Linked DNA regions of Homo sapiens: regions 1 and 2 are each linked to region 3. Evidence: promoter capture Hi-C in 16 types of primary human blood cells and fetal thymus (Javierre and others, 2016). All regions are on one chromosome and are shown on one strand. Each heading gives the region's core, a stretch centred on a gene start or on the middle of the fragment in contact. The rest is flanking DNA. Distances are from core to core; before and after follow the strand shown. Region 1 has its middle 5.9 kb from the start of NDUFA5. Region 2 holds the start of IQUB (IQ motif and ubiquitin domain containing). Region 3 holds the start of PEX1 (peroxisomal biogenesis factor 1).

Region 1 (4,484 bases), core at 1,897-4,396, about 31 Mb before region 3:
TCCCTGGTTCAAGCAATTCCCCTGTCTCAGCCTCCTGAGTAGCTGGGACTACAGGTGCGTGCCACCACGCCTGGCTAATTTTTTTGTATTTTTAGTAAAGACGGGGTTTTACCATGGTGGCCAGACTGGTCTCAAACTCCTGACCTCAGGAAATCCACCCGCCTTGGCCTCCCAAAGTGCTGGGATTACAAGGCGTGAGCCACTGCGCCCGGCTAACTTTTGTATTTTTAGTAGAGGTGGGGTTTCACCATGTTGGCCGGGCTGGTCTTGAACTCGTGACCTCAAGTTATCCATCTGCCTCGGCTTCCCAAAGTGCTGGGATTACAGGCGTGAGCCACCGCACCCGGCCTGAAGGTCACATTTTGAGGTAATGGGGATTAGGACTTCAACATATAAATTTTGGGGGAAACAATTTGTATTATGGTTCCCCAGAGAAACAGAACAAATATGGTATATAAAAACATATGTTATCTGGGGAACCCTAAAGCAAATTGTTTCTCCCTAAATTCGTGTGTGGATGTGTGTGTGTGTGTGTGTGTGTGTGTGTGTGTATTATAAGCTAAATAGCCAGATAGCTGGTAAAACATTTCTGGGTGCGTCTGTTACGTCTGAGGATGCTTAGAGAAAAGATTAGCATTTGAATTTATAGAATAAGGCAAAGAAGATTACCCTCACCAATAAGGTGGCCATCATCCAATCCCTTGAAGGCTTGAACAAAGAGACAGAAGAAAGGTGAATTCACTCTCCCTGTTTGAGCTGAGACATCTATATTCTTCTGCCTTTGATTATCAGTGCTCTTACTCTTGGACTGGGACCAGGATTGATACCATTGGCTCTGTGGGTTTTCAGGCTTTTGGGCTTGGACTGAATCACAACACCAGCTTTCCTAGTTCATCAGCTTGCAGACAGCAGATTGTGGGACTTTTCAACTTCCGTAATTGCATAAGCCAATTTCTATAATAAATCTCTCTACATGTATGTGTGTGTGTATGTTTATATGTACTTGTGTGTGTATGTGTATATATATGTGTGTGTGTGTGTGTGTGTGTGTGTGTCCAGATGCTTCTCAACTTACAAAGGGGCTATATACCAATAAACCCATCATAAAATTGAAAATATCATAAGTCAAAAATCCATTTAATACTCCAATGAACTATCATAAAGTTAAGAAATCATAAGGCAAACAATCGTTAAGTCCAGATGTTTCTTGACTTATGGTGTTACGTCCCAATAAACCTATCTTAACATCAAAAAATCGTAAGTCAAAACATTGTAACTTGGAGATCATCTGTATATGTGTGTGTATGTGTGTATGTGTATATACACACACACACAATAGGATATATAAAAATATCCTATATATAGGGGTATTTTATATATATCTCCTATATATATGGCTATTTCATATGTGTATATGTGTGTGTGCATGAAATTAAAATGAAATATTAAATATCCCACTGGTTCTCTTTCTCTGGGGAACCCTGACTAATACAGGAGGTTAGGTCTGAGAAGTGGGGCAGGGCCTTGTGGATTGCAAGGTGTAAGAACTTTGACTTTTACAGCTTGAGTGAAAAAAATCATGGGAGAATTTTGAGCAAAGTACTTTTTAAAAGAATTATTCTAGCTACTGGGTTGAGAATAAAAAAAGTAAACTAATAAATTAATAGAAGTCAAGTAGGTGGTGCCATATTACACATACTGGGTGAGGCATATACATATAATAACTCATTTAATGTACTCCAGAGAGGGAGGCAAAAGTCAAAGTAGGGAGACCTGTTTTGGGTGTTCTTTTCTTGTTGTTGTTTTATTGATTTACAAAAGTTCCTTACATATTCTAGGCATCGCCTATTTTTTGGTGGCTATATGGGTTGCAGATATCTTCTTCCCGTCTGTGTTGTTTTACAATTTAAGTTGTGTCTCTTGTTATTCAGAAGTATAGAATATTAATGTAGTCAAATTCACCAACCTTTTTTTTGATAGATTTTATTTCATTTTTTCATAGATGTTTGTATTGGGTCATACTGCTCACAGTCCTGCCACATGCAGACTCCTTCTTCACACTGCCCATGATGTGGCATCTAAACATAAATCTCAATCCTGGTGCTTCCTGTTTAGAACCCTTAGAGAACTGCCTGTGGCTCTGTGACCCTCATCATTTAGCCTCCTGTAGGTCTACTGGCTCTAGGATACTGTGATAACAGCCACGTATATGTATAAAAGGCACACTTTATGTTATTGTGCTTTGCTATATTGTTTTACTTCGCAGATATTTTGCAAATTTAAAGTTTGTGGCAACTATGTATCAAGCAAGTCTATTAGCACCATTTTTTCCAACAGCATGTACTCACTTCATGCTTCTGTGTCACGTTTTGGTAACTCTTGAAATATTTCAAACTTCTTCCTTATCTATTATGGTGATCTGTAATTACTGATCTTTGATGTTAGTGTTATTAAGTGTCTTAGAGTTCAACAAACCACACCCATATAAGACAACAAACTTAAATGTTATTTGTGTTCTGGTTGCTCCACCGACTGGCTGTTCCCCATCTCTCTCCTTCTGCTCTAGCCTTCCTATTCCCTGAGATACAACAATGTTGAAATTAGGCCAGTTAATAATGCTGCAATGGCCTTTAAGTGTTCATGTGAAAGGAAGAGTCACAAATCTCTCACTTTAAAACAAAAGTTAGAAACGATTAAGCTTAGTGAGGGAGGCATGTTGAAAGCTAAGATGGGCCAAAAAGTAGGCCTCTTGCACCAGTTAGCCAAGCTGTGAATACAAAGAAAAAGTTCTTGAAGAAAATTAAAAGTGCTACTCTGTTAACACACGAATGATAAAAAGGCAAAACAGGCCAGGCGCGGTGGCTCACACCTGTAACCCCAGCACATTCAGAGACCGAGGTGGGCGGATCACCTGAGGTCAGGAGTTCTAGGCCAGCCTGACCAACATGGTGAAACCCTGTCTCTACTAAAAATACAAAAAAAAATTAGCTGGGAGTGGTGTGCCTGCCTGTAATCCTAGTTACTCAGGAGGCTGAGGCAGGAGAAATGCTTGAACCAGGGAGGCAAAGGTTGCAGTGAGGCGAGATCGTGCTGCTGCACTCCAGCCTGGGCAACAGAGAGAAAACTCTGACTCAAAAAAAAAAAAAAAAGAAAGAAAGAAAGAAAAGAAAAAGAAAAACAGCCTTATTGCTGATATGGAGAAAGTTTTAGTGACCTGGATAGACCAGGCCATCCACAACATTCCCTTAAGCCAAAACCTAATCCAGAGCAAGGCCCTGACTCTCTTCAGCACTATGAAGCCTAAGAGAGGTAAAAAAAGCTGCAGAAGAAAACTCTGAAGCTGTTAGAAATTGGTTCATGAGGTTTAAGGAAAGAAGCCATTTTCGTAACATAAAAGTGCAAGGTGAAGCAGCAAGTGCTGATGTAGAAGCTGCAGCAAGATCCAGAAGATCTAGCTAAGATCACTGATGGAGATAACCACAGGAAACAATAGATTTTTAAAAATGTAGATGAAACAGCCTTCTATGGGAAAAAGATGCTATCTAAGACTTTCAAAGCTAGAGAGGACAAGTCAACACCTGGCTTCAAAGCTTCAAAAGACAGGCTAACTCTCTTGTTACAGGCTTATGCAGCTGTTGAAGCCCATGCTCACTTACCATCCTGAAAATCCTAGGACCCTGAAGAATGATGCTAAATCTAGTCTGCCTGTGTTCTATAAATGGAACAACAAAGTCTGGGCTAAGAAAAAAGAAGATTTCTTTCAAAATATTACTGCTCATTGAAAATGTACCTGGTCACTCAAGAGCCCTGAGGATGAAGATGTACAAAGAGATTAACATTGTTTTCACGCACAACATGCTGCAGTCATCATTCTGCAGTCCACGAGTCAAGGAGTAATGTCCACTTTCAAGTCTTATTTAAAAAAATACATTTTATAAGGCTATAGTTACCATAAATACCGATTCCTCTGACAGATCTGGGTAACATAAATTGAAAACCTTCTTGAAAGAACTGACCACACTAGATGCTATTAAAAAGATTTGGTGATTCATGGGCCAGGTGCGGTGGCCACGCTTGTAATCCTAGCACTTTGGAAGGCTGAGGTGGGTGGATCATGAGGTCAGGAGTTCAAGACCAGCCCGGCCAAGACGGTGAAACCCCGTCTCTACTAAGAATACAAAAATTAGCCGGGTGCGGTGGCAGATGCCTGTAATTCCAGCTACTCGGGAGGCTGAGGCAGGAGAATTGCTTGAACTGGGGCAGCAGAGGTTGCAGTGAGCCAAGATCATGCCACTGCACTCCAGCCTGGGCAATAGAGACTCTGTCTCAAAAAAAAAATTGGTGATTCATGCAAGGAGGTCAAAATATCAATATTAACAGGAGTTTAGCAAAAGTTGATTCCAACTCACATGGATGACTTTGAGGGGTTGAAGATCAGTGGAAAAAGCCATTGCAAATGTGAGGAAAACAGCAAGAGAACCAGA
Region 2 (5,032 bases), core at 2,247-4,746, about 31 Mb before region 3:
ACCCAAGGAAGCCTAACTAAGTTAGGTTCCTATTTAAGATTAAATTGTATAAAGTCATCCTCACAGCAAACTACAAAAAAAAATGAATAGTGGCTATCAAGTCACATTTAACACTGTGAGACACTTAAGTTCTCTCCTACCAGTTTTTCTTCCCCCATCTCCTGACTCTATTCCTAAACCTACTGTTTGCATACCGTCTCTAACATTGAGAACAGTGAATGACAAATTTTAAAGAGGAGACCCAGCAAAGTGAATGTTTAAAACCAGTGGAATGTTTATTAGTAGCAGAATGTAAGATAAATTATGATTTTGGAGATGGGAGTGTATGAGTGTTTGTAAAATCTTATCTGCACACCTCCACACCTGGTCTACCCATCCAAGAAAGCCTAATTCTAGTGGTTACCTCTATGCCCATTTTTCCCCTTTACTTTTCATGAATGTGTGGAAATGATTAAAATGAATTTACTTTTACTGATCATTATTAAAACAAAGCCAATTTTATCTGAATATATATTTCACTATTCTAGTAAAAATATATTTTAAAATGGGATGACTGAAAAAAATGGCATTGGATATTACAAAGTTATTGGGGAGATGAGAGTGCAATTTCAGCAGAACAGTATAAAGAAATAAATGAAGACAATGAACATTTATGAATAAGGGAATGGACCTGTATTAATTTTATTAATCCTTTTAACATATCAAATCAAATTAAACAGTACTGTAATGGTTAAAAAATCTGGGACCTGGAGTTAGATTGCTTAGGTTTAATCCTGGTTCCCTCATTAAACTTTGTGTGCCTTAGTTTTCTCATTTACAAAATGGGTCTAATAGCAGTTTCTCCCTAATAAAATCGTTGTAAGGATTAAATTAGAAATCTATGTACGGTGCCTCATGACAATGAATACTTCATAAATGTTAGCTGCTATTATGAGATAGCAACATGTAGTTTGTTACTAAATTTCCAAGAGGAACATACTTGACTTGACCTCCAATACTATCCTGTGGTTCTTTAAAAGTTTTCTTATTCATTGATAGGCCGGGCGCGGTGGCTCACTCCTGTAATCCCCAACACTTTTGAAGGCGGATTGCTTGAGGCTAGGAGTTCCAGATCAGCCTGGCCAACATGGTGAAACCCCATCTCTACTAAAAATACCAAAATTAGCCGGGGGTGGTGGCGGGCGCCTGTAATCTCAGCTACTCAGGAGGCTGAGGCAGGAGAATCGCGGGAGCCAGGGAGGTAGAGGTTGCATTGAGCCGAGATCGAACCACTGCACTTCAACCTGGGCGACAGAGCAAGACTCTGTATACACTAGAAAAAAAAAAAAAAAAAAGAATTTGTTGTTAGACAAAATTTAGTTTATTAACTAATTTAGTGATTAACAAAAGTTCTTCTAAGCAGAATTATTTGATAGCTACTATCTCCCTTTTCTCTTTGGCTGCCAGGAAGCTGAGAGCCAAGTTGTTAGTTTAACAAAAGCAAGTAGGCACCTGACAGTTTCTCGCCTCTGACTTCATCGTGATGATTTCTCTGACTCGGATTTTTTTTATATCTGTAAAATTAAACTGCTGTCAGTGTTTGGTTTAGAGAGCTGTGCCGTTTCACAAGTGTAAAAGATCTTGGAGAGAAGTTAGTGTCCTGATTCACTTGGATCTAGGTAGCCAGTTGGTAACAGCCTCCGCCTCTGGCTCCTCCCCTTCTCCCTGCCGCGTCCCTCCTCCCCGCCCCTTCGCCTCTGGCCCCGCCCCTTCTCCCTGCCGCTTCCCTCCTCCACGCCCGCTCGCCTCTGACTCCTCCCCTTCTCCCTGACGCGTCCCTCTTCCTGTCTCTTCGCCTCTGGCTCCTCCCCTTTCTCCTGCCATGTTTCTTCTCCCCGCCCCCTCGCCTCTGGCTCCTCCCCCTTTTCCCTATCGCGTTCCTCCTTTGCAGCCCCCATCCCCCTCCTCTGGCTCCTCTTCTTCCCTACCGCGATCCTCCTTCCAGACCCCGGCCCCCAGCCCGCCTCTAGCTCCTTCCCTTATTTCCTGCCGCGCTCCTCCTTCCCGACACCGCCCCTCCGCCTCTGGCTACTCCTCTTCTCTCCTGCCGCACTCCTCCTTCCCGGCCCCACCTCCCCGCCTCTGGCTCATCCCCTTCTCTTCTGCCGCCCTCCTCCTTCCCGGCCCCGCCCCCAGTCTTTGGCTCCTCCCCCTACCCTGCCGCGCTCCTCCTTCCCGGCCCCTCCCCGCTGCCCTCTTCTGGCTCCTCCCCCCCACCCGCCTCTGGCTCCTCTCCTTCCCACCCCTGCCGTGCTCCGGCAGGAAGAGGTGGTGCCAGGGCCGTTGCTAGGATACGACCAACAGCTGAGAACGCGGCGAGTATGGAAGCTGCGTCTTAGGAGCCTGGGAAAGCACTTCGACGAGAATAGTTTGGTTTCGTACACAGGTAGGAGAACAGATTTTGACTGCGGCCTCCTGGTCCGACGCTTAGATCCAGCCTAGAGCCGGTGACAGCCGCGCTGGACTCTGGGTTCTGTGTGCTGGGCAGTGATTCCCACCTGAGCGCCTGGGGCTGCCTAGTCGGTCAGGAATGTTCCGACTTTACTTTAAAAACCGTGCGAAGCATCTCATCTTTCTCGGCTCCTTTTTTGGCTTCCCCTCTCTGATTTGGGACTTGAACCAGCAGCATCAAGCTAGGAGGTACACCTCACCTCACACCCTGGGTGCTTGTCACGGTAATTGCATAGAAGATGTGTGTATAACCCACACCTGGCACTAGAGACTCTTAGCCTTCCGTGGCCACCATTCTCATATTAAGTCGAGAGATTTTAGACTTTCCTCACCTGGCACTCTCACTCCTTCCTCTCCACCCTTGGTCTTTGCCTCTTAACAAACCTAAAAATTCAACAGATCTATTTGGTAGAAGGCAATACTGGATCCCTGCCTCACTAATTATACTACATTCTAAATGTGTTAAGCTTTAAATGGTAGGGAATGAAATGTAGGTGAAAAGGGAGACTTTTTTGTATGCAAACATGATAGAGGTTGCTTTTTAAACAATAAGATTTAAACATTTTCATTTGAATAGATAATACATAAAAAAATAGTTCGAATAGTAAAAAGAATGAAGAGTGAAAATCCTCCATCTACCCATTTCTCCCCATCTCCAGGCCACCTTCCACAGGTGTTTTAGACATACGCAAATATGTAGTTACACCTGTAACATTGTGCATACTCTTCTGTGATTGGCTTTTACACTTAAGACTGTGTGTCCAGTTGTTTTCTATCAATATTTACAGATCTGTCTCATTTATGCATTTATGGATGAATTTATGTATTTATGTTTCATTGTGAGAAGGTGTTTCGAAGCATGTCAGGAAATTTGGAAACTCTCATAAGCAAAAAGATTGATAAATGTCACTACCTAACAATCTAAAACTTTTATATAGTAAGAGAAAAACAACATCAAACATACAATGGGAAATATAAGGGCAACACACAACAAAGGGATATTTAATTATTAGGACTCATAAAACAATATGAGGATGTAAGGAAACAGTCAAGGGGAACTTCTTGGGGCTATAATAGAAAACAGTTTGATGGAATTTAACAAAATTAAGATCTGTATGCCCTTTGACTTGTCCATTCTAATTCTGGGAACTCATTTTCAGTATACTTACACATATATACAGAGATAGATGTATAAAATGTTTGTTGCAGCACTATTTTTAATAGTAAAAAACTAGAGGGGTCTGCATGGCGGGGCCTCGGAGCCAAGACGAGGTTGAGTAGACTCGTTTTGAATTTTCTCCCCTCTGCTCCGGCGGACTTCCCATGTCGCCTTGTGGGGCTATCGGCGGCGGCAGGACTGGGGGAGTCAGAGGTCTGGCAGCGCTGTCTGCGCAGACCTACCGGACGCTACCTCCCAACCCCCCTTTCTTCCTCCTGCCTCCTCCTCCTCCCGTCACCTCCTGACCCGCCGGAGCTCCGAGCAACTGCCGGCCTCCGCCCCCAGCCGCAGCCGGTCACTGGCGGCGCCTTCCGCGCCAAGCTTGGGGGCCTTTTCGGGGTCCTACATGGCACGGCTTCCGACCCCCGGCCCGGGACGGGGCTCGCAGGCCCCAGAGGGGCAGGCTGGAGAAGGAGGAGGTTAGGTGTCTTCAGGAGGGTTGCTGAGCCCAAGGACGCGCCATCGCCGCGGAGAAGGAGCCGGACCCCTTGGGCGGAGCGCCCAATGTGTGGTCCCTCACGCCGTCCCGCACCTTGCTTTTTAGGGTTCTTTTTCCGCTTTCTGAGCCCTTTTATACCTTACGTTTAGAAGGGGAAAATCATCCTCCCACACCTTCTCCCCGACTTTTTGCCTTTTTTGTCTTGAAGTTACCCAAAGGTCTGTGTATTGTTCTCAGTGGTCCCAAGAATTACTCGAATATAGTTGTTTTTCTGAGGGAGGATGGATGGAGATAACTATCCTGATCCCAGTGTCACTTTTTAAGGCATTCGCTTCAAGAGACAAGCAGTTTAGAATCAGGCAGAACTGGATTGCAAAATTTATGGGCAGACCGGTATGTGTGAAGGTGAAGACAAAGCTTTCCTTTTTTACGTTGTTTAAAGATGTCCTACTGTAAGGTAGACGCCTAATATTTAAATGAACGCCTAATATTTAAATAGAGAATGAGAAGAGATTTAAACAATTGGAAGAAAAAAATAATTTTTATTAGAAAGCAATGACAATAAAAGTAGGACTCTTTTCAGTTTACTCACCTTTGTAACTCCGAATCCGGGCCCTGGAACCAGAATTCCTGGGTTCAAATCCTGCCTCTGCTACTTGATTAACCTTTTTGTGCCACACTTTTATCAACTGTAAGAATTAACTGCGCCATCGGAAGCACTCAGTATATGTTAATTATTATCATCAAATAGTTACTAATTCCAGTTTAACTAGAAGCTTTGCCAGCGTGAATAGATAAGGGAGAATAGCCACATTGAGTGGAGGAATAAAATTAGAAAACCTCTGTGCTGAAGTCCCAGGAGATCACTTATTAGGCTTGAGCTT
Region 3 (4,608 bases), core at 1,696-4,195:
GCCAGAGAAGGATGGGTCTCAGAGCAGATTAGTGAGGAGAACAGAGATCAATATAAAAATAGATAAGGCACTGCATACTTCAGCCTTTTTGGAGCAGAGGATTATGTCACATAGAAGGCTGGAAAAAACTGAGTCAGTTTGCAGAAAGGAGTAACAGTAGAAACCACAATAGCTAATGTTTACTGTATTCTGACCAGGATACACCTTTATATGGATTATCTCATTTCATCCTCATACAACCCCAAGAAGTAGATAGGTCCCTTTACCATACAGATTTTATGGAAGAGGAAAAACTTAAACAGGTTAAATAACTTGCCCAAGATCATGAAGCTAGTAAGCAGTGGAAATGGAAAACTTACTCCAAACCCAACTTTTTTTTTCTTTTGAGACAGAGTCTCACTCCATCACCCAGGATGGAGTGTAGTGGCCCATAAGACTCACTGCAACCTCCACCTCCTGGGCTCAACTGATTCTCCTACCTCGGCCTCCCAAGTAGCTGGAACTACAGGAATGCACCAACACACCCAGCTTGATTTTTGTATTTTTACAAAATACAAAATACTGGCCATGTTGGCCAGTCTGGTCTCGAACTCCTGGGCTCAAGCAATCTGCCTACCTTGGCCTTCCAAAGTGCTGGGATCAAATCCAACTTTTTCTTTTTTTTTTTTTGAGACAGTCTCACTCTTGCCCAGGCTGGAGTGCAATGGCATGATCTTGGCTCACTGCAACCTCCACTTTCTGGGTTCAAGTGATACTTGTGCCTCAGCCTCCCCAGGAGCTGGGATTAAAGGTTTGCACCAACACAGCCGGCTAATTTTTGTATTTAGTAGAGTGAGGGTTTCACCATGTTGGCCAGACTGGTCTTGAACTCCTGACCTCAGGTGATCCACCTACCTCGACCTCCCAAAGTGCTGGGATTACAGGTGTGAGCCACGTGCCTGGCGTCAAACCAGAATTTTTTTTTTTTTTTGAGACAGAGCCTTGCTCTGTCATCTAGGCTGGAGGGCAGTGGCATGATCTCTGCTCACTGCAATCTCCACCTCCCAGGTTCAAGCAATTCCCATGCCTCAGCCACCTGAGTAGCTGGGACTACAGGTCCGCACCACCACACCCGGCTAATTTTTGTATTTTTAGTAGAGGAGGGGTTTCCATCATGTTGGCCAGGCTTGTCTTGAACCCCTGACCTCAAGTGATCTGCCTGCCTCGGTCTCCCAAAGTGCTGGGATTACAGGCGTGAGTCACCACGCCCAGGCTTCAAACCCAAATTTTTTTTTTTTTTTTTTTTTTGAGGCAGAGCTTCCCTCTTGTTGCCCTGTCTGGAGTGCAATGGCGCAATCTCGGCTCACTGCAACCTCTGCCTCCCGGTTTCAAGCGATTCTCCTGCCTCAGCCTCCCGAGTAGCTGGGATTACAGGCCTGCGCCACTAGACCCAGCTAATTTTGTATTTTTAGTAGAGAGGGGGGTTTCACCATGTTGGCCAGGCTGGTCTCAAACTCCTGACCTCGTGATCCGCCCACCTCGGTCTCCCAGAGTGCTGGGATTGCAGGCGTGAGCCACCGTGCCTGGCCAAACCCAACTTCTACTCTACCAAGCTACAGGACATTAAATTGTTAAGCATGGGAATGATGTGATGGATACAGTGTTTCAGTAAAGTTAACTTTTAAAAAGGCTGGAGGAAGATATGCTAGATTACGTTTTGGGGTAATTCAGTTATGAATGAGGGAAACTTGGGGCCAAAATGACAGAAATATGAATGGAAGAAATGAGGAAATGAGTCATTTCTTAACTTGCACATTACCTTGCACTTTGTAAGTTCATAAATTTAATAAGATAAACTTCAGTAAAGTCTTCTGCTGGGTATTCATCTAGAGCATTGTACTGTTCAATTGCACCATATAAAGCGAATCGCTCAACTAATTCCTTCATGACTCCCACAGCAGGAACTCCTTGTATTAATAAGTACTGAGATTCCAAATTGATTGTATATACCTGAAAGAAATGCAGAGTTATTAAACGTATTTCGCAAATAAGCCTAGGACGAATCTGCCTCTATTTTTTTTTAAAGAGAACTTTGAAAACAAGAAATAATCTGTTCAACCCAGTCAGCAAAAGAACACAAAATGAAATTTCTGCCATTCCTTCTGCATAAAGAATAACAGTCCATGTGAGAGGCTACCTAAGGCATATAACAGACTACCTTCAGTCGACATTTTTTTCCAGAAATTGAGTCGGTAGAAGTCACTGGGAACAATCACTCAACGAATATTCACTGAGTGCTTACCTGTGCCAAGTAGTACTGTAAACACAGAAGATCCAATGACTAAAACCAAGGCCTATTCTCGTGGAGTTGATGTTCTAATACTTGACCAAAGGCGTCGTGAGAATCTTTGGTAACTGACCGAGGGTTCTTCACGCCAGCTCTAACGAGAGACAGATCTGACGGAAGCCTTGTCGTGCCTTTATTTCCGTAGGCTGGTCATATGGCGCTAGCACTCACATAAAGCTACCGAGGAGAGCGAATGAAACCAAAATCACTTTACCTTCACAGCACGAGGCCGTCGTCCCTCTCGATATTTGGCCCGTGTGTCGCATACCGCCCTCTGGACGTGGTGATCAAATAAACTCCCTAGCTCCCCGCCGCTCGACGCCATCTTGCCTACTTTGATCCTCGCAGGGAGGACAACATCCGCCCTACTGAGCTCCCTTTTATCCAATAAGAGAGCGGGATGAGTTAAGGAGTGCCAGGATTGGCTGGAGAATCGACAGCGTCGGCCATCGTTTCCTGCGTGCGAAGATTTGATGAACGAGGTGCCGCCCCCGAGCGGCTCGGCGGAGAGGCGCGGTGGGTGACAGAAGCTTTCTTGTCCCACCCACTACAGGCTTACGGCAGGATGCGCAGCGGGGAGAGGGGGCGGGGCCGCAGGGGGCGGGGCCGATCGATCTCCTCCGGCTCCGACGTCCTCGGCCTGCCGGGTCCCGGGTCCTTTGCGGCGCTAGGGTGGGCGAACCCAGAGCGACGCTCCGGGACGATGTGGGGCAGCGATCGCCTGGCGGGTGCTGGGGGAGGCGGGGCGGCAGTGACTGTGGCCTTCACCAACGCTCGCGACTGCTTCCTCCACCTGCCGCGGCGTCTCGTGGCCCAGCTGCATCTGCTGCAGGTAACCTGCCGGCCCCGAGCCACCTGATCTTCAGCCTGGGGTCGGACGAGGCCGAAGCCTCTCAGGGACGCGGCGGGACACCGGCTGCCACCCGGGCGCCGCCGAAGCGCGCAGAGATCAGGGTCCCTCGACGGCAGGGCCCTTCTGGGTAGTCTCTGGATCCCACAAGTCCAGTGCAGCCCTGGGCTCGTCTTATCCCAGGTCTTTTCACTTGGTGAAACTGAACCTAGAAACGTCCTAATATTCTACCACTGTTTTTATAAATATTCCTTATTCCAGGCTGGAAAAGCTCCTGAGAAGTGGTTTGTTTTTATTATTTTAAAAGGTGTTTTCCTTGCCAGCCATTTCCAGTTAACCTGCGCTGCTGCCGTCCGGGCCGCGAGAGCGGGACGCAGAGTTGTTGGCGGAGCCCCTGTCGGTTCCCGGGGACTAAGCACCGCGTCCCATGAGCGGGAAAGGTTAATACAATGATGGTTCTGCCCTGCGTCGCTGACGCGGAACACAGCTGTAGTGTGTTAGGAACACATAACGTAGTTAAGATCACTTGAAGCTCTGCGATCAGTCGCCCTTCTGGACGTTGTGGTTAGGATGTTTCACAGTTCTAACCACTGGTGGAGATACAGCGTCCATATTTTCATAATTAAAAATAGAGGCACATGGTCTCACGAGTTTGAGTGTACTTATGGGGGCAAAAGGACGGCGTATTTGAAATCCTCATAAATCCTGGATGCATGGTACCCACCAGTGGCTAATCTATGCAATGAATAGAGTTTGCAATAATTTCAAGCATCCCTTCTTTCCACTTGAGTTACTTCCCCATACCTAGGGGAAGATATTTTTGGTCCACTGAAAACATGAGTTCAGCAGAATCCTCCTATCATCGTCGTTATTATTTTTTACCACTAAGTAGACAATCTTTTGGTTTTTGATGGGCTTTATGGCTAGAGACAAATCAGTCACTGTCACCAAGTTCCAGGTAGAAGTTGGTTCAGTGCTCTGTCAGCTTCGATGGGATTTTTCAACATGTTTTCAAATCTGCACTTAATAGTAGGAATGCTTTCTTACAGTAACTCTAATTTGATCCTAAGATGTAGTTGTTACCTTACATTCATCACTGTTTAAGAATTTAGTGGTCTTGATCTTTGTTTTAAATTTTGAGCCTTCGGGAAGTACTTATAAGAATTAATTCATGCATATCTTTTTGAAATGTAAATGTCTTTAGCCCTGGAACAAATTGCTGTTTCTGTTCAGCCCATATTAGCAGAATAGGTCAACTTTACTTTCTAATTATCAATGTAATAAGTTTATTACTTTATAGATTCCATAAATCTATACATTTATTCCTCGATGAATTATATAAATTTATAGAATTTATGTTTTATAGAAAATTTGGAAAGCATGGAAAATTATTAACAAGAAAATAAGTTACCCATAATCCCAGAACTTAGAG

What was found. Contacts are between HindIII fragments. The CHiCAGO score rates a contact against its expected background, and 5 or more counts as called.
Region 1: a contact is called between a fragment that was not itself captured here and the fragment with the promoter of PEX1 in region 3, in 1 of 17 cell types (non-activated CD4 T cells). The highest score is 9.0, in non-activated CD4 T cells.
Region 2: a contact is called between a fragment that was not itself captured here and the fragment with the promoter of PEX1 in region 3, in 1 of 17 cell types (non-activated CD4 T cells). The highest score is 8.6, in non-activated CD4 T cells.

The regions. Positions count from the first base shown.
Region 1 is chr7:123,561,464-123,565,947 of GRCh38, reverse strand. It overlaps a transcript of NDUFA5 not described here. Among named protein-coding and RNA genes, the nearest start is that of NDUFA5, 5.9 kb to the right of the region's middle. The HindIII fragment of the contact is 892 bases long and covers 2,701-3,592 here.
Region 2 is chr7:123,531,885-123,536,916 of GRCh38, reverse strand. IQUB (IQ motif and ubiquitin domain containing) reads left to right here and starts at 2,322. Exons shown (of 13, transcript NM_178827.5): 1 at 2,322-2,425. It overlaps LOC124901740 (a long non-coding RNA gene), which reads right to left and starts at 2,386. Exons shown (of 2, transcript XR_007060507.1): 1 at 1,492-2,386; 2 at 658-1,312. RefSeq lists an enhancer at 1,436-1,575 and silencers at 1,646-1,775, 1,856-2,005, 2,026-2,255. The HindIII fragment of the contact is 1,073 bases long and covers 2,960-4,032 here.
Region 3 is chr7:92,526,857-92,531,464 of GRCh38, reverse strand. PEX1 (peroxisomal biogenesis factor 1) reads left to right here and starts at 2,945. Exons shown (of 24, transcript NM_000466.3): 1 at 2,945-3,158. The coding sequence starts at 3,030. RBM48 (RNA binding motif protein 48) reads right to left here and starts at 2,670. Exons shown (of 5, transcript NM_032120.4): 1 at 2,541-2,670; 2 at 1,799-1,989. The coding sequence starts at 2,651. RefSeq lists enhancers at 2,367-2,746, 3,347-3,526 and a silencer at 2,887-3,116. The HindIII fragment of the contact is 2,281 bases long and covers 2,859-4,608 here.